Linked DNA regions of Homo sapiens: region 2 is linked to region 1. The links are contacts of gene promoters, found by promoter capture Hi-C in blood cells and fetal thymus (Javierre and others, 2016). All regions are on one chromosome and are shown on one strand. Each heading gives the region's core, a stretch centred on a gene start or on the middle of the fragment in contact. The rest is flanking DNA. Distances are from core to core; before and after follow the strand shown.

Region 1 (6,025 bases), core at 1,247-3,746:
CTCTACTGATATTACCATGGCTGGCTTCTTCTTATTTGGTGTCCATGTAAATGCCCTCTCCCCAGTCAGCCTTCCTCACCCTGCCTGAGTCACTCTGTAGCGGATTTCTCTGATTTGTTTTTTTCCTTTAGCAGTTGCCACTGTATGAGATTATCTTGTTTGGTCTATTTATTTGCTTGTCATCTCTCTGTTTACGTGAATGTGAGCTCCATAAAAGCAGATACTTTTCCTAAGACAGTGCATGGCACATAGTATTTAAATATTAAGCATGAAATAAAGATTTCTGGAATAAATGAAGAAGCAAATGCAGAGGCCTTTGGGAACACATACAACATAAAAAGAAGAGGAGAGAACAATTATGACTACCTAGTAGACTTCCTTATTACCTTAGTTATCTTGGCAAGGGCAAGAAATTGCCCAAATATAGATCATTTGGGGGCTAACAATTCTGACAAAGTAGGGCTTTATAGAAGTTGAAGGTAAAGCTAGTTAATTTGAGGACTTTCCCTAGACAGAGCCCTTTCTCTAATATCCTAGTTAATAATAATCATCCATCTTTACATGCTAACAGTGCATCAGGGAGGACTATGTCATGGTGGTGGTAGTAAATAATAATGATAAAAAATAACACAATCAAATACTTACATGGTGCTTACTGTGCTCCAGGCACTATCCTAAGTGCTTTATACAGATGAGCTCACTTACTCCTCACAGTCACCCTATGAGTTTGTGCTATTATTATCACTGTTTGCTGATGAGAAAGTGGAAGCACAGAGAAGTTAGGCAAGTTGCCAAATGTCACACAGTAAGTGCTGAAACTAGAATTTTGAGCCACAGCCTGGCTCTGTAGTCTGTATTTTTCTATGCTCTGTAGCCTCAGCACACTTTCGCCATCAGGTATGCAGGCTTGGGGATCAAACTTCCTCACTTCAGAAAAGTTGCTGCTTGAAGAGTTGCTGCTTCATTGCTGCTCAAGGCTGGCTCTTAGATCCGGAGCCTGGAATTCATGCAGTGTCCTACCTATGAAATCTTTCTGTGGGGACAGGCCTCCTTTTATCTGTGCTTGTGTTGCAGGGGCTATACGTTTCTCATTTAGAGCCATTTACATGCTATCTATGGGAAGACTGGCTATAGAAACCATCTTTTAAGAACTTAATGCTAAGGACCAGTTATGTTTTACTGCAAGTCTTTAATGCACAATGCCAAGATCAACATTTTTTGAAATTACAATTTTCTCTGCTATTTCTTACAATGCTTATTTTCTTTCCATGGTTCCCAGCTAATTGGTGTCCCGTACCTGTGCTGATGTTGAATGTTTTTCCTCCAAATTAACCTATAGATGATTTCTGGGGTGGGGGTGAGGATGGGGCAGAAACCCTTTGAAAAGGAGTGCAAAAGTTCATGTTCATGTGACTACGTACATTTTTCAGGAAAGAGGTAATTATCCCAATACTCTGCAACACAAAAAAGATTCTGAATCACTGAGCCTGGGTGTACAAACACTATGTCTTGTGTGTATGTGTCTGTGTATATGTGTGTTTCCTAGTAAAACCAGTTTCATATCTTCATAGTTCTATTTCTTCTGGATAGTACTTTTCTAGAGAATATGGCAGTAATTTCTAATTTTAAAAGACATAAGAAACAAAAGTCACAGTAAAAATCTAATCAGCCAAATAGTTTATAAGAAAATGCAGGAAAAAGATAAAGAATGAGCTCCTTGATACATTGTATATTCTGGTTCAAACATAGTACATGCACAGATACATACAGCACAAAACACACTAACTTTAATATCCTGTGGAGAAGTTAATTTGCTGGATTACACATATGCATGTTAAATGGGAGCATTTATTAGAATAAGTCAGACCAAAAGAACACTTTCGCACGGAATATTTATATAATGGAAACAGGGATTTCTGAAAAATTGCTTCAGTTTTCCAGGTGGCTTTACAAGGGCAGGATGGATGTAGAGTAACTGGGAGAGAGACTCTCCTTTTAGCAACATTCTGGGCATGAAAGGCAGTTGTGGATCCAGCCAAATAAGCTGCAAACTTCCCGATGATATATTCACCGCTTTTCTACATTTTGTGATAGTAATAAGGAAGGTGTTAGCTCTAGCCTGCTAAATGTTTGAATCTGATGCATTTTGTAATCAGCAGAATAATGGTCCCCAAAGATGCCTACGCCTAACTCCTGGATGCTGTGAATATGTTGTGTTATATGGCAAGGATAAACTAAAGTTGCAGATGGGAATTAAAGATGTCAATCAGCTGAGCTGGAAATAATTAGAGTGCCCTGGATTATCCAGGTGGGCCCAATGTAATCACAGATTTCCTTAAAAGTGGAAGAGGGAGGAAGGTGTGTTGGGTCAAAGTGATTCAATAAGAGCAGGATTCAATCTGTACTGGCTACCTTGGAAGATAACAGGAAAAGGACCGTGGGCCAAGGAGTGTAGGTGGTTTCTAGAAGCTGGAGGGGCCAGTGACATATTTTTTCCCTAGTGCCTCCAGAAAGAACGCAGCCCTACTGACACCTTGGTTTTGGCCTGGTGAGACCAACTTTGGACTTTTCACTTCCAAAACTGTAAGTAATAAATTTGTGTTGTTTTAAGCCAACAGCAGAGGTGTCATTTCAGTTTGTAGTCATTGCTACAGCAGCACTAAGGAGCTGGCACACATTGCCGGGACTCGCTCTGGCGCTTGGGCGGCACTGTAGGTGTCCACGTTCTTGGAGGTAGTCAGCAAAGGGGGGCTCTCTCGGCTGGGCTGGCCACGTCTGCTTACACAGAGTGCTACCCTCTTCCCACTGCGGTAACAGCCTTGCCTTAGCCCCTGTGTGTTTGGAGTGGCATTCGCTACAAAAGTTCTTTGTCAAAGGGACAAACGATGAGCTATGATGCCATTCAGACTGATGTGTTAACTTCTAAGCTTTCCTATGATTAAGATAATTGTTCTATGATATGAGGAGCGGCATTGCATGCAGTATATTTCTTTATGTGCTGTTAAAATGCAGTTCACGGCTGTAGACAGGTGGGGTGAAATTAGCACCAGACTGGGAGACAGAAGCCCTGATTTCTTTCCTTGGCCTGTCCACATACAAGCTATGGGTGTAATGAACTTTTGTTTTCCCATAAACATTTTAAAATCACTTAGTCATGCTCCTCAAAAAATTTTAACTTTTGGATTAAAACTGTTGAAACTGTAGATAATCTGGTGGAAAATGAACACCTTAGTTCTACAGTTAACAAAGGTAAGTTATCTCAATAATTTGAACATGTTATATTTTTATCTACTTAGGTCTTGTCTGTCCTATAATAGTTCTAGGGCTTTTTTTTTTCCTATAAAGTTCCTGGTAATTCTTATCTGATTTTTCTTTTTCTCCTTAATATAGTGCATTATTCTGAATTGTTAGGTAAAAGTTGGTCTGCTTGTTGTCAGTATCTTATAGAGTTTGTGCTTCTCATATGCCTAGAAATTTTTTCTTGTGACTTTATATCCCCTTCAGGGGATATAAGATGCCGTGATTAATATCGTACACCAGGAGAAGGGGTTACAGCCTGTGCGCCTCCTGGTGATCTTGATTAGGAAGAAGGGGAAGGTGGACCTTAGGGCAGATGGCCTCTAGCATTGAAATGTGGGCTCCCAGATCCTCCATCTGTCCACATCTTGCTGGACACCTCCATACTCATCTGCCTGGGCCACTTCTCTGACTCCCAATCCCCTAACCCTTGGGCTGGGAGGAGAAAGAGCTCAGAAGCCAGCAGGTTGCTCTCTTCCCTTGCTGTGTGCTCTCAGTGGTTGTTGGCAGCACACTGGAATCACCTGGCAGCCTTAAATACTGATAGTGAATTGAATCCATAGAGATTCTGATTTTGTGCATTCCAGGTGAGGCCAAGTGTATCAGGCTGTTTTAAACCTCCCCAGATGATTCTAATGTGCTGCTAAGGTTGAGATCCCCAGTCCCAGCCCTCTCCTGAAGCCACCCCACTGGCTGGAGAAGATACTGGGCTGACATTGCTTTTTCTCTGCCCTGCCATGGTCACTGGGTGGGCAGGCAGGCCCCTGTCCAGGGTAGCGTGGACACTCTTCCAAGGCAGCATCTACGACTCTCAGCTGTCACTCTCAGCTCTCCTCCATCTAAAACATCTTAGTTTTACAGTTGTGCTTTTCATATGCCTAGAAATTTCTGGGCTACATTTCTTTCCCATATATGGACTTCATGACCGTCTATTTTCCCAGAGGTTTTTTGCAGTTTTTATGCTAGTTTTTGATTCACCAATCTTTTCCTTCTGTTAGGTTTAAAGAAAAAAGTCTACAGTTCCAGTTAGTCTACTTTTGTAACAGGACCTGACAACTCCACTCTACTTCCAATCCTGAAAGACTACAGGAAAAACTAGCCCAAGTGACTGAGCTGGGGGGTCCCAGTCATCGGTAGCATGGGTATTTTGCTTTGGAATATTATCAAATAGCAGGGGGACCAGCACAGTGGACTTAGTGTCAAGTCTAGGATTTGATTCTTAGCTAACAAAACAAGTTTCCTCTCTGAGTTGTGACGATTAAATGCAATAAAATGGAAAAGTGCCCAGCAGTGATGGGCTTTCAGGAGATGCCATAGACATTAGCTGAATTTGAACATTTTCAACTTGAATGGGACAGAAACATTAACTGGAGTTGACAGGAGGATCAGCGATGTATCTAATAAGCAGCATTACAAATAGCACAAGCTTAGGTGTTCCTCAGCTACCACACCTTAGTGCTTGCTCCTCTGTTAGGATTATCTATTAGACTTTGCTATTTACTTTTATTAGATTTTTATATTACAAGAGGGGCACATAATAGAGCTCATGCAATTTGGTTCATTTCAGACTTGGGCCAGCTTTAGGTGAAAGCTGCTGGAACTAATTTTTATAGCCAGGACTTCAAATAGTGACTTTGAGCCTATATCAGAACAAAATATCATTATCCCCAGCCCTGGCTCTGACATCAGTTCTTTTGAGGCTGAAAGTTGCCCTGGGGTTGTAAGATCTTACACGACCAATAACAGAAGTCAGCAGAGACTCCTAGGCACAGAGATGTGATACCATAATTAATATTTTGATAGCATTCCAAACAGCAACAGAATAATGCCTTTGGCCAGGAAATCACAGATCCCTACCCACCCTGTTATGGTGGAACTGTGTCCCCTCAAATGATCCCCAGTAGCTGTGAATGTGATCTTATTTGGAAATAGATTCTTTTGTAGATGATCAAGTTAAGGTTAAGTAAGGTCATTAGGGTGGGCCCTAATCCACTACGACTGAACTTATAAAAAGAGAAAAAATTTGGACGTGGACATGTGTACGCTGAGATAACATTATGTGAAGATGAAGGCAGAGATTGGGAGACGGAACTATAAGTCAGGGAACACCAAATTGACTAATGTCCCCCCAGAGCTAAGAAGAGGCCATGGAACAGCCTCTCCTTCACAGGTCAGAAGGAACCAATCCTGCCAATACCTTGATTCCCAGAATTCTGACCTCCGGAACTGTGACACAAGAAATCTGTCAGTTTAAGCCAATAAGTTTGAGGTTCTTTGTTACAGTAGCCCTAGGAAACCAGTACACCCCCTTTTCTCTCACTCTGCCTTCCAGGAGAAGTGATACTATAGATTGCTCAAACTCAAGGGAACTCCTTCAGTTTTTCGGTTGAAACATGTGAAAAGGCTGATATGTAACCACTATGACCTTCAGAAGGGGCAGTTTCACAGGATGTAGTCAAATATATTTTCTGGTGGGTGGAGCTTTGTGTGAGACATAAATCAATCTCACTGGGTAGCTGTCTCAATTTCCACTTTCCCAGTTCAGTGTGGGTGGATGGGGAAGGTGCTCTCAACTGGGGGGGTACACAGGCTGCTTTTCTCATTGGCTTTCCCTTATGCTTCCGGGACATTCTTCATTCTGTGTGGCCAGGGAACATGTAAACTGGAGACAGAACCCAAAAGCTTTCCCTCCCTAAAAAAGGCCTAAGGTGGGATGGCCAGCAGGGCA
Region 2 (6,025 bases), core at 2,314-4,813, 370 kb before region 1:
GAGCCACCGCGCCTGGCCTAAGTAATTTCTTCTTAACTCCTGTATCATTGGTAATGTTATATTTCTTAATCTGGGTGGTAGTTATATAAAGTGTCGTGTGGTCTGAATGCGTCTCCAGAAATGGTGTTGAAAATGTAATCCCAAGTGCAACAGTATTAGGAGGTGGGGCCTTTGGGAGGTGTTTAGGTCATGAGGCTCCACCCTCATCAAGGCCCTTACAAAAGAGGTTTGCAGGAATGGGTTCACTCTCTTTTACTGTTTTGGGACATGAGGACAAATTGTTGGACCCTGCTTGCCCTTCCACCTTCCACCATGTGAGAATGCGGTATCTAGCCAATTACCATAGCACAGGGGTTAAGTGCACAGACACCAGAGCCAGGCTATCTGAGAACCTGACAAGAAGGCTCTCACCAGACACCAGATGCTGGCACCTCGATCTTGGACTTCTCAGTTTCCATAACAGAGAAATAAACTCTCTTTTTTGCCTAGTCAGATATTGTGGATAGCAGCACAAAAAAGCCTAAGACAGGGAGTTTGTGATATAATTATTCACTAAACAAAACATCTGTTTTATGCATTTTTTACGAGTGCATGTTTTATTTCACAATTTTTTAAATGAGATAAATGGCTACATTAATCATCCCTAGAAAGATAAACATTCTCTCAAAGATGAGACTTGGGCACCATTGAATATTTAGTGACTGACACACTCTGGGTTTCACTAGAGTGAGTCTCTCACTTTGGTATCCCTGAAAGTCCTTCATATTTAGGATTAGAAGCTGAGGGAGCCACCAGCCTTGATGCTGGCTTCTCCATGAAAGTCCTGGCACCATAGGCAGCAAGGGCAGGAGCTGAAATATGAAGGGATGGACAAAAGTTGGGGGAGCACGATTAGGAAAAAGAAGACACAAGGCAGACCAGGGAGACCAGAGCTCATAGTGGGAATCAAGTGTCAAGTAGGCAGAGCTACTGGCAATAAGAGCAAGGCTAGATGTCAAGACCAGGCAGGTAAACAGAGATCTGGACAGTTATGGAGATTGCAAGTTCTCAGAAGGGAAACTTAGAACTCCAGAGATTTGATGCTGAGTCTCCTGGCATAAGCCCAGTTGAGCTGGGGAGTGGAAAGACAGATGGGGACTAGGAGTAAAACAGACCTACTGTGATGGCAGCGGCACTAGGGTCCCAGGTGAAGGCAGTTAGAGAAATGACAGAGTAAAGACAGAACAGTGTAGCCTAAGGCTTTATGCATGTATGCATTCATTTGAATACTTCCTTGAGAGCTTACTGTGGGTCAGATACTATCTGTGGGTCAGATACTATCCTAGGTATTGGAAATCCAGTGTAAACAAAACAGTCCCTGTCTTCCTGGAGTCTATATTCTAGTAATTAGCAAAGAAGCAGGAGAGACAGATGGTAAATAAGTAATTGGACAACTAAAAGGGTAGTTTCACATAGTACTATCAAGAAAAATATAGAATGGCTTGGGGAGGGGGCAGTACTCAAGAATGATAAGTGTTTTTCTGGAGAAGGAGCAAGCAGGAAGAGCATTAGATGAGATGTTATGGGCAGCCTGAAGAGAGTTCCAAGTGCAGAAAAGAAGCAGAGATGAGGCCTGCAATTAGGATGTAGCTGTTCAACACAGCCCAGGGCCAGGAATCCAGCCACCTGGGAAGACTGAAACTACTGTGGCATTCCTGGCCCAGCGGCTGAGATACCTGACCTGTTATCAAAGCAGGGTCCAGGCTTGGCAGAACCCACCAGAGAACATGATTCCAGTAGAGCAAACCTGGGGCTTGGTCCTAGGAACATGTCAGAAGTCAGAGCCAGGCCACAGAGCCAGAATATTCTCCACTTAAGACATGATTACATTTCCTAAGCTAATTGCTTTTTCTCCAAAGAAGCCTCAGATCTCCGGTTTAGAGCTTTCGCCATGATGTACAACGTTATGCTTAAAACACATCAAAACATCCTCCTTGCTGGGGAATGCTACTGGATTCTCTCATCTTGGCTTAGCATGCTACCATATTCCAATTATCCTGAGGCTCTTTGGAGACAGAGACGGGCAGGATGGGGAAAAGCTCTTCAGCCTCCAGGCTAAGTTTGAAACATACTCTCTTTGTCAGCAGTCTTACTTTTAGATTCACCCGATAAGATCCTCTAGGATACTGACTACAAAAAGCCACAGAATCAAGCAAGATAAGGCTGGTGGTCTCTCACAGCTTACCTCACAAACTGCTCTTCTACATATTTAAAAGTAGCCCTTGGCTATTTACGTCTGCATCCTGGGGATGGCTGCTTAGCCCAATACTGCAGCTAGTTCTGGTCCTTAGTCTTCAAAAGCTAAAAGCAGTTCAGAAAAGGGGCAAAGAGGATGATTCCAAGTTCATGAACAGGACTACTCCATGAGACACAGGGAGAAAATCCTCCCTATTTCTCCCTCCATGCCACCCTGCAGAGTTCCTTGATCACATCCCTGGCAAGCTCACCACTAACCCAGATGGCTCGACAGTCTTCCTGGCCTACCTCACAGCTTTGTTGAGAGGTCAAAGGAGGAAGCTGTAAAGCATTAAGGAAATTTAAGAACCCATTATTATTATTTTACAGTATGATATGGTTTGGCTGTGTCCCCACCCAAATCTCATCCTGAATTGTAGCTTCCACAATTCCCACGTGTCATGGGAGGAAACTGGTGGGAGATAATTGAATCATGGGGGTGAGTCTTTCCTGTGCTGTTCTCGTGATATTGAGTAAGTCTCACAATATCTGATGGTTTTATAAAGGGGAGTTCCCTGCACATGCCTTCGTGCCTGTCACCATGCAAGATGTGACTTTACTCCTCCTTTGCCTCCCGCCATGATTGTGAGGCCTCCCCAGCCATGTGGAACTGTGAGCCCATTAAATCTCTTTTCTTTATAAATTACCCAGTCTCGGGTATGTCTTTATTAGCAGTGTGAGAACAGACTAATACACAGTAGTATCACTTTGAAACCTACTATAGTCCCAGAAGTTCAATAGTTAGGAAAAATAAGTTGCTTAAGTTTAAAAGAACATGCAGCAGTGTGGTCGTAGATGAACCTCCAGAGGAAAAAGGCCTGAAAAAGGCTGTACTTGCCAAGATCTGTGATGCAAATACTCCCACTGCAACTGATCACGTTGATGTCAAGCCATCAACATGATATCACAGAATTGGAAAGAGATGAGCACGGTCCACCCTGGCAAGCCAGTGCATGCTGGCTCCAACACACTCAGGGGCCATGCTAAGGACTGGGGGCTCGGAAGTAAATAAAACACAGCTTATGGCTTCAGATTAATGCATGGGCTAGTCAAGGAGATGGACAACAAAGTAAAGAACCATGATAATAAATTCTGTAACAAAATTATGTACTGATAGCAGATGCATGTGTGTGTTCTCCCAGTGGAATCTGGAACCCAAAAGGAAACAAAGCTTTAGACCAACAAAATGAAGCTTTGATAGTGGAATGGCAGACATCGGCTAACAGTCAAGGAGGGTTACTGGAAATTCCATCTCTAATAGATAGCTGCCAACTTGTTTATGAAGGCTGGCTCTAGATAAAATAGGCACTGTAACAGAGAATGTTCAATGATCTCAGCTACGCTACTGATAAGCATGAGAAGAGTTGAGTCAGAGACAGGGTAATTAAAGCTTATGCTTCCATGGGCTAGAGAGAACCTGCATCCATTCTCCTAACATCTGTCTACTTATTCCTGCTGCTGCCATGTCCATACATTGGCCGGATAGAGCAATTGGGTCAGAGAGGGGCAGGAAAGGCATGGGAGAAGGTTAGGAACCAAGGGGAAGAAGAGGTAGATGCCATCAACACCTCCTTATCTTCCTGCTCTTTTGAAGTCCATGAAATCTACTCATCCCATACCCTTCTCCTAGGCAACCCTATTGTCTGTCAAGGTTCAAGACTCAGTCACACCTTCTTCAGATATTTCAGCATCACAGTCTTTCTCCCACAGCTGCTCTTTCTAGATCTCACATTACGCTGTTTCTCTCTCCGTTTCTGGCTCTTTACATGCAGAGGCTTCTTCAACGTTCAGTCATTCTTGCTTCTTTTGTTGTTCCATAGTTTCTCTTTAATATTGACATCCACTTCCTTATTTCTCTTCCCTATGCAGACCACATCCCTGCTTGCTTATCAAGACCTTACCTTTCTCCTGAGCACCAGCCTCATATTTCAATCAGCTGGTGCACAATTCATTTACAGAGACCTCTGGAATTAATTCAGACAGCACATCCTCTGAGACCTCATCTTCCTCTTCAAGTTTCCATTGCTATTTTATTTATTTAGCAAAAGTGTATTTTAAAAACTGATTCATATCAGTTGTACATATTTTTGGGGTACATGTGATAATTTGTAATGTGTACAAATATGTACAATGTGTAATTATCAAATAGGGTAACTGAGATATTCATCACCAGGGCATGGTGGCATGTGCCTGTAGTCCCAACTGCTTGGAAGGCTAAGGTGGAAGGATCACCCGAGTCTGGAAGGTCGAGGCTGCAGTGAGCTGTGATTGTGCCACTGCACTCTGGTCTGGATGATACAGTGAGATCCTATCTTAAATACATACATACATATAGTGTATATTATTCTGTTTCCTTGTACCAGCAAACAGCTTTGGGAGGAAAAAAGTCCTTTATAATTGGGAGATAATGAAATGCTTTTAGAATGGGGACAGAACTAGAGCCACCCTTAAGGTTAAATGGACTCAGGAACAGAAACAAAGACTCTCACAGCTGCTTCCTATGGCTGCCAGCCTCTATGTGTGTGTGATTGTGTGTGTGTGTGTGTGTGTGTGTGTGTTTGTAGGTTTTTATCCACAATTCCTATCTCATAACTTCCACGGACAGAATTTTGTTATAATGTTGGGGCACTGTAGGCCAGGCATTGGAAGTAGGAATTGGAAAACAGAATCTCTCTCTCTCTCTCTCTAACATTCTCCTGTCCTCCTTTGACCTGCCCAAGGCAGGACCCTAGTCTGGTTGTGGGCCCTAAGAGCCTCATTTGCGAGAGTGTCCTGCCCCATACCCTAAAGGAAAAAAGTGCTGCACAGAGAGGACAGAACGACGTGAACAGACAGGCCTTTCTGGGTTTCCCCAATCAGTCTATTAGTATTGAATCATACCTGTTTTGTCCAATCACATTTTGACATGGATGTCCATGTTTCAATCATGCCTATCCAACAAAGTCTCCATAAAAGGCTCAAGAGGACTGGGTTTGGGGGCCTTCCAGAGAGCTGAACACATGGAGGCTGACAGGAAGGTAAACAAGAATTCATTCATGTGCTGTAAGGATGGCACACCTCAACTCCATGGATCAGAAGCTCCTGCACTCCAGACCTTTTCAGACCTTGTCCTATGCATCTCTTCATCTGGCTATTTATTTGTATTCTTTAAAATATCCTTTGTAATAAACTGGTAAACATAAGTAGGTGTATGGCTGAGATATGTGAGCCACTCTAGTAAATTAGTCAAATCCAAAGACAGGGTCATGGGAACTCCAACTTGAAGCTGGTCAGTTAGAATTTTCAGAGTCCTGAACCTGCTACTGGTGTCTGAAGGCTGGAGGTTGTCTTGGGGAATGAGCCCTCAACCTGTGGGATCTGACATTATCACTAGGTAGATAGTGTCGGAATTAAATTGGAGAACACTCAGCTGGTGTTCACTGCAGAATTAATTGCTTGCTTCCTGGCGGGGAGAAATCCCCACATATTTTGGGGTCACGGAAGACTCCTGTATTGATTGTTGTTGTATTATTGAGTGAGAAAATAGGAAAAAGCACATTAATTATTTTTTTCCACATTCAGAAGTCTTTAATTCATTTAGGTTGATTTTTGTATATGATGAAAGATGGGGATCTTGCTTCACTCTTTTGCTTATGGATATTGAATTTTCCCAGCATCATTTATTAAAGAGACTGTCCTTTCCCCAGTGTATGTTCTTGACACCTTTGTCAAAAATGAGTTGGCTGTGTGTGGATTTATGGGTTTCTATTTA

Evidence for each region. The method cuts DNA at HindIII sites, captures the fragments that hold promoters and counts their contacts. A CHiCAGO score of 5 or more calls a contact.
Region 2: a contact is called between a fragment that was not itself captured here and the fragment with the promoter of HTR2A-AS1 in region 1, in 2 of 17 cell types (non-activated CD4 T cells and total CD8 T cells). The highest score is 6.5, in non-activated CD4 T cells.

The regions. Positions count from the first base shown.
Region 1 is chr13:46,849,644-46,855,668 of GRCh38, forward strand. It overlaps HTR2A-AS1 (HTR2A antisense RNA 1), which reads left to right and starts at 2,497. Exons shown (of 2, transcript NR_103752.1): 1 at 2,497-2,583. The region is part of intron 3 of HTR2A (5-hydroxytryptamine receptor 2A); the gene reads right to left. RefSeq lists an enhancer at 5,592-5,711. The HindIII fragment of the contact is 4,589 bases long and covers 1-2,925 here.
Region 2 is chr13:46,478,206-46,484,230 of GRCh38, forward strand. No RefSeq gene overlaps it. Among named protein-coding and RNA genes, the nearest start is that of LINC01198, 14 kb to the left of the region's middle. The HindIII fragment of the contact is 198 bases long and covers 3,465-3,662 here.